Regions from separate parts of the Homo sapiens genome. Here region 1 is linked to region 2. The links are contacts of gene promoters, found by promoter capture Hi-C in blood cells and fetal thymus (Javierre and others, 2016). All regions are on one chromosome and are shown on one strand. The core of a region is centred on a gene start or on the middle of the fragment in contact, and the rest is flanking DNA. Distances in the headings are between cores, read along the strand shown. Region 1 overlaps ARHGEF17 (Rho guanine nucleotide exchange factor 17). Region 2 holds the start of ATG16L2 (autophagy related 16 like 2).

Region 1 (2,700 bases), core at 78-2,577, 520 kb before region 2:
GAAGTAGGAGGATCACTTGAGCTCTGGGATGTCAAGGCTACAATGAGCTGTTTTCCTCATAATCATCTTCAGGTAGACTGTATGTTTTGAAGATAGCTATCATCTCACATGCTTTTTTTTTTTTTTTTTTCTTGAGACAGGGTCTCACTCTGTCACCCAGGCTGGAGTGTAGTGGCGTGACAGCTCACTGCAACCTCAAACTCCTGGGCTCAAGCGATCCTCCTGTCTCAGCATCCTGAGTGGTGGGGGTACAGGTGCGCACCACCACGCCCAGCTAATTTAAAAATATTTTTTAGAGATTAAGCCTAGTCTTGAACTCCTGGGATCAAGCAATCTTCCTGCCTCGGCCTCCCAAAGTGCTGGGATTATAGGCGCGAGCCACTGCGCCTGGCCCACATGTTCTTCTTACAATGTGGTATTGACTCTTCCCACAGAAAGACGAGGTCCAGGTCCCCTCCCTTTGAAGCTGGGTAAAGCTTTGTGACTGCCTTGACCACAGAGCACAGCAGAAATGATACTATGTGACATCCAAAGCTAGGTCATAAAAATGCCATGTGCTTCCATCTTGCTCTCTTGGCTTGCTCATTCTTGAAACCCAGCCTCCACGTTGTGGGGAAGCCCAGGCCACATGCAGGGGCCATGTGTAGGTATGCCAGCTGACAGGCCAGATGAGGTCCAGCCAAATGCCAGCATTAATCACCAATTTGTGAGTGAGGATGCCTTCAAGGTAATTCCAGCCCAGCACTATCCGACCACACTGCATGACTCTCAGTGAGAAGTGCCTAGCTGAGGAAACTGAGGATCAGGGAGGTGGAGGAGCCATGGTCACACAGGCAGTGAGTGGAAGAGACGGAATGTGAACCCAGGGTCCTTCATATGCTGACAGGAGAAATGAAGGAAGGGGATGATTTCTGCACAGGCTAGATTTCATCTATTGCCCCAGAGGGGTCCAGCTGGGACTCCAACCTCACCACTCCTTCCAGAAACTGTCCCTGCTGGCTGAAAGGAGGATGGAGGTGGTAGCCCTCATTCCTTATGCTGGGACTCAGGCCCGACTTCTAACTGCTGAACCTTGCTGGTGCACTCTTAGCCCAGAAGGGACCCCCGTACCCACTGCGCTCCCAGCCCCCTCCTAGACCTCTGGGAATGAGGTGTGCTCACTGTATCCTTGGTGGGAGCTCATGTATACAGCTGGCTAATGTTTAGTGAGGCACTGTTTCTCATGTATTATCTCATTTAGTCCTCACACCAGTCCTCTGAGTTATGTATTCCTGTTATGGCCATTTTACAGATGAGGAAACAAAGGCTCCAGGAAGCAAAGCAACTTGCCTGAGGTTATGAAGTCAGGATGTGGCAAAGCTGGGATTTGACCCCAAGTAACTGGCATATCAGAGAAGCTGAGTGACCTCACCAGGGTCACAGAGCACATTAACAAGAAGTCAAGCCAAGCCCAGAGCACCTTGAATGAGAAGGTAGGAGGCTGTATTCTCTTCCATGGATGGCTGGGAGTTAGATGGAAATAGGACGGTCTCAATGTCTGCTCCCTGCTTTCCACAACCAGAAGATCCATAAGAGCAGAGACCAGGTCTCTTGACATACAGTAGGTGTACAATACTTATCTATTGACTGTCTTGCTTTGCAACTTTAGCCAAATTCCTCTCCACTCTGGGATTCAGTTTCCCCCTCTGTAAACAAATGGGGGAGAAGGGAAGGTGTAGATGGATTCTAAATTCCCCACCAGGCTTCCTGGCAGCAGAGGTGGTGGGGGTGAGGTCATGCTCAGAGGTGGAGGATGGACAGCTTGACCTTCCTTCCTGATTTCAGGCTTCAGGATTAAGCCTATGGCTCCAGTGAGGAAGCTGAAGCCCCAAGAACTGCACTTCCACCAGACGCCCACAGGTGGCAGCAGAGGCCCACATGGCAGGGGCTGTGGTGCATGTGGTTTGAATTTAACTGGTGGGTTTTTTTTTTAATGTGGGTTTTTTCCCTTTCTTTCTTCTCTGAGATCCGCCCCCCTCCCTCCCAATTTCAAGAAGATACAGCTGGACCTTCCAGGCTGGGAAGGAAAAGTTTCTCATTATGGATAATAGCGGGAAGCAGGAGGTGGGGCTTGAGAAGTAGATGGATAGACAGACCCCCAACAGATGTGAAAAACATCTTAGGAGCTCAGAAGCTTTGAATGCAATCATCCTCTCAGCCCAAGAGGCTGGGACTGTCACCCCCATTTTACAGGCAGAGAAACCAGAACCCAGATCTTCTGGGTCCCACATCTGAGTCTGAGCAGGGGAGGTTGCCCTGCCCTTGGCAGTCGAGAAGGACCCCACTGGTAATCCCATGAGGCCTTAGGGTAGGTAGGACTTGCTAAATCTGGCAACTCCTGCTTTAGGGCTCCCAGGAAATGCACCCACCTTCCCCTATGCACACTTCTGCCTACATACTGGCCTGGCCTGTGGTCCCAGCCCTGGCTTAAAACCTATGAATGAGATGACCTCCAGGGGCCCTCCTCTCCCAGCTCTAAAAGTTATTTCATTCAAAATGTCTAACACTGGCTCAGCACCAGACCAGTGCTCAGGGAATCAGGCCCTGTGGCCCAGGACCACCACCGTTCAGCCTCTGATTCCTGACCTGCACAGAGCACTGGAAAGCAGGGATCCCTTCCCTATCCTCCACCCAGTTCCCCAGCCTGCAGGGGGGCTGGGA
Region 2 (2,700 bases), core at 79-2,578:
GGCCCTGGGCCTGGCCTAGTTCTCATGAAAACCCCACCTCAGCCCCCAGGGTACTGCAGCACCCAGCAAACCTAAAGAAGGTCTCTATACCCAATTAACAAGTAAGAAGACTGAGGCTTAGCGATGTGATCTGCCCAAGGTTTCAAGACTGGCCCTTCAGTCTGATTTCAGCCCTCCAGATCTCTCTAGTCCCTCAGACTCACAGCTCCCTGGGTCGGGGCGGGGGGCAGGGGTTGGGGGGGCGGTGACCCCCTCCCTCAAACTGGACGGTTCCACTGTCTGTCTGAGCAGTGGAGAAGTGTGGCTGCTGGAGGTGGGGGCTGGCCTCGCAACCCTGAAGGTAGAGGACCAGCAGCCTGGAAGCTTGCAGAGAAATTTTCCTGGCTAAGAGCAGATTTGATTGTGGGGGTTTGGCCAAGATTAGCCCCAGTGAGAGAGCCGCAGGGATTGTGGTTAGACTTCCAACCACAGACATACAATCGCAGGCGGCCAGAGGTGCGACACACAGGCACACCTGTTCATCCCCTCTTGAAATGCCACACCCTATCCTGACCAGCTGCCCAGAAACAATTCTGAGAGTCCGACTTCGCTGGGCTCAGCCAGCATCCACCAGCAGCCCGGGGCCCCCTGATGCCCCCTCAGGCTGGGTAGGCTGACAGGGAGGTGTTCCATAAGCCTGTGCCAGCGTCGCCTGTCAGCGGCAGAGCCTGAGATGCACAGCCTCCTCCTTAGAGGTTCCGAGTGTCGCCCCTCTCCGGATGGGCCAATAAGTGGCTGCTCTGGACAAGTCCCGCGTTCTTTCACTGCGCTACCGAGACTAAGTGCACTGATCAAGCCCCTACCCCGGGGACTGCCCGGGTGGGGAGGCAAAAGAGACCCTGCAAAACCAACACCCGAGGACGCACTTGCGTCTCGGAAGCCCAGCTTGTGGGAGGCAGAGCCCGTCCTGAGGGGCGACGAGGGCAGGGGGACCAGGAGGGGCTCGTCCAGGTTCTAACCAGAGCCTGGATGGCAAGGGGCGGAGTCCTGGCAGTCGGGATGGGCGTAACGCACAGGCTCAAGGCATAAGGCACAGCGCACTCGGGTCACAGGCGGAGGAGCCAGCCAAACCCTCTCCCCGCGCCCGTAGCCGCGTCCCCTCAGCCGCCATCCTCTCAGCACCGGGGCGCACTCACAGGCCGGCACCAGCTCCAGGAAAAGCGCCTTTTGCGTACGGTCCCGAAGCCGCAGCTGCCGCACGATGTGGCGTTTCCAGCGCGCTGCGGGGGCACCGGGGACGCCCGGCCCCGCCATGGCCGCGCTCTCCCGCCTAGCGGCGCGTTCCTCCCGCCCAGGACGGCGCCAGGCCGGGGCGGGGCCTCGCGGGGACTCCGTGACGCCAGGGGGCGGGCGGCGGCGGGGAATCCCCGGCTTGTCCCAAGAGGGCTTTGGCGGGGAGGACCGAAGGCCGACGCCGGGAGGATCTGCCTCCGGGAGGAGCCGCCTCCGGGTCTGAACCGCCGGGGCCCCGTCCGAAATGTTCACCTAAGTGGGGGCTCCTGTGGCTGCGAGGGTCATAAGCAGGAGCGAGGTCGGAGCCTCCGGGGAGGCTTCCCCCACGCGGGTGGAGCGCTCCGGAGGCGGGGCCCTCAAGGCCCGGGTGTCTTAACCCCGCCGCGCCCGGGCCGAGTTCGAGAGCCGCTGGTGCTTCCCAGGCCGTCGCGCTCCTGGCCGCGCACCCAGCCAGGGACCCAGAGGCCCTCAGCCCCGGGCTCTGCGCGTACACTGAGGGCGCGGCGCAGCAGGACAGCAAGATAAGGAAGCAGAGACTGAAGGGAGGAATCCCCGCTTTCCGGGGATGATGGCGTTCGAGTTGGGTCTGTGAGGGATGAAATAGGAGTTGGCCAGAGGGAGAGAGGGACTCTAGGCCTCGAGAAGAGCACGTGCAGAGGTTCCGTGACACGAAAACGCCAGGTGGGTGCGGGGCTGGGAGGACAGGAGGCAGAAGGGTTTACGGCTCCACATGGTCGCCGAAATTTTAGGTCCCTGAGAGTAAAGGGGTGCAGCTGATTTCATCTAGAAAGCCCCTGGCCGGGAGGAGAGAACGAGCTTGCTTGCCTGGGGTTGCAAAGGAGTGGGTAGCTGAGACGGCCAGCACCCCAGCATCCTGACTCAGGGCCAGACGCTTCACCCCATTGGGCGGCGTCTGGAGGAGCAGACACATCTCTTGTGGGTACCCTCGAAAGTGAATCATGGGTCGCAGGGAACTGTGGTCAAACCGTCTCTAGCTAGATGCTAGAGAGCCAGCTCTGCAGGCTCAGGCTACTGTGAGACACGAAAGGAGGGACTCGCTGGGCACAGCCTCACCCTGGGGCATGCCAGCAGGCCCTGCCCTCTGAGTGTTGGCAGACTTGAACATCCCTAGGGAACGAGAGAAGTTGGGCAACGATGGGAGAGCAGTGCAGGCCCTGGAGGTGACGAGTCTGTTGAGATTCTGATGGGGATGGGTCAGAGGACGTAGAAAGCAGTGAAGGCCTAGACGCCCCCAGGTCAGTGTAGCCTGCTCTGCTTCCAGTGAGCTGGGCTCAGTCCCCCACATGTCATTGTCTTAGACGCCCATGGCCTTTGCACAGGCCGAGCCTGATGTTTGGAACATCGTCGCCTCTAGGGGGCCTGGCTCCTAATCATGCATCACCTCCTCCAGGAGAACTTTCCTGCCCC

The links. The method cuts DNA at HindIII sites, captures the fragments that hold promoters and counts their contacts. A CHiCAGO score of 5 or more calls a contact.
Region 1: a contact is called between a fragment that was not itself captured here and the fragment with the promoter of ATG16L2 in region 2, in 1 of 17 cell types (endothelial precursors). The highest score is 6.4, in endothelial precursors.

The regions. Positions count from the first base shown.
Region 1 is chr11:73,334,837-73,337,536 of GRCh38, reverse strand. The region is part of intron 1 of ARHGEF17 (Rho guanine nucleotide exchange factor 17); the gene reads right to left. It overlaps LOC124902710 (a long non-coding RNA gene), which reads right to left. Exons shown (of 2, transcript XR_007062774.1): 2 at 1-2,700. Among named protein-coding and RNA genes, the nearest start is that of ARHGEF17-AS1, 27 kb to the right of the region's middle. The HindIII fragment of the contact is 1,697 bases long and covers 479-2,175 here.
Region 2 is chr11:72,813,039-72,815,738 of GRCh38, reverse strand. It overlaps ATG16L2 (autophagy related 16 like 2), which reads right to left and starts at 1,328. Exons shown (of 18, transcript NM_033388.2): 1 at 1,176-1,328. The coding sequence starts at 1,293. LOC107984421 (a long non-coding RNA gene) reads left to right here and starts at 1,672. Exons shown (of 3, transcript XR_007062771.1): 1 at 1,672-2,700. RefSeq lists an enhancer at 556-705 and silencers at 1,236-1,685, 2,086-2,175. The HindIII fragment of the contact is 2,352 bases long and covers 366-2,700 here.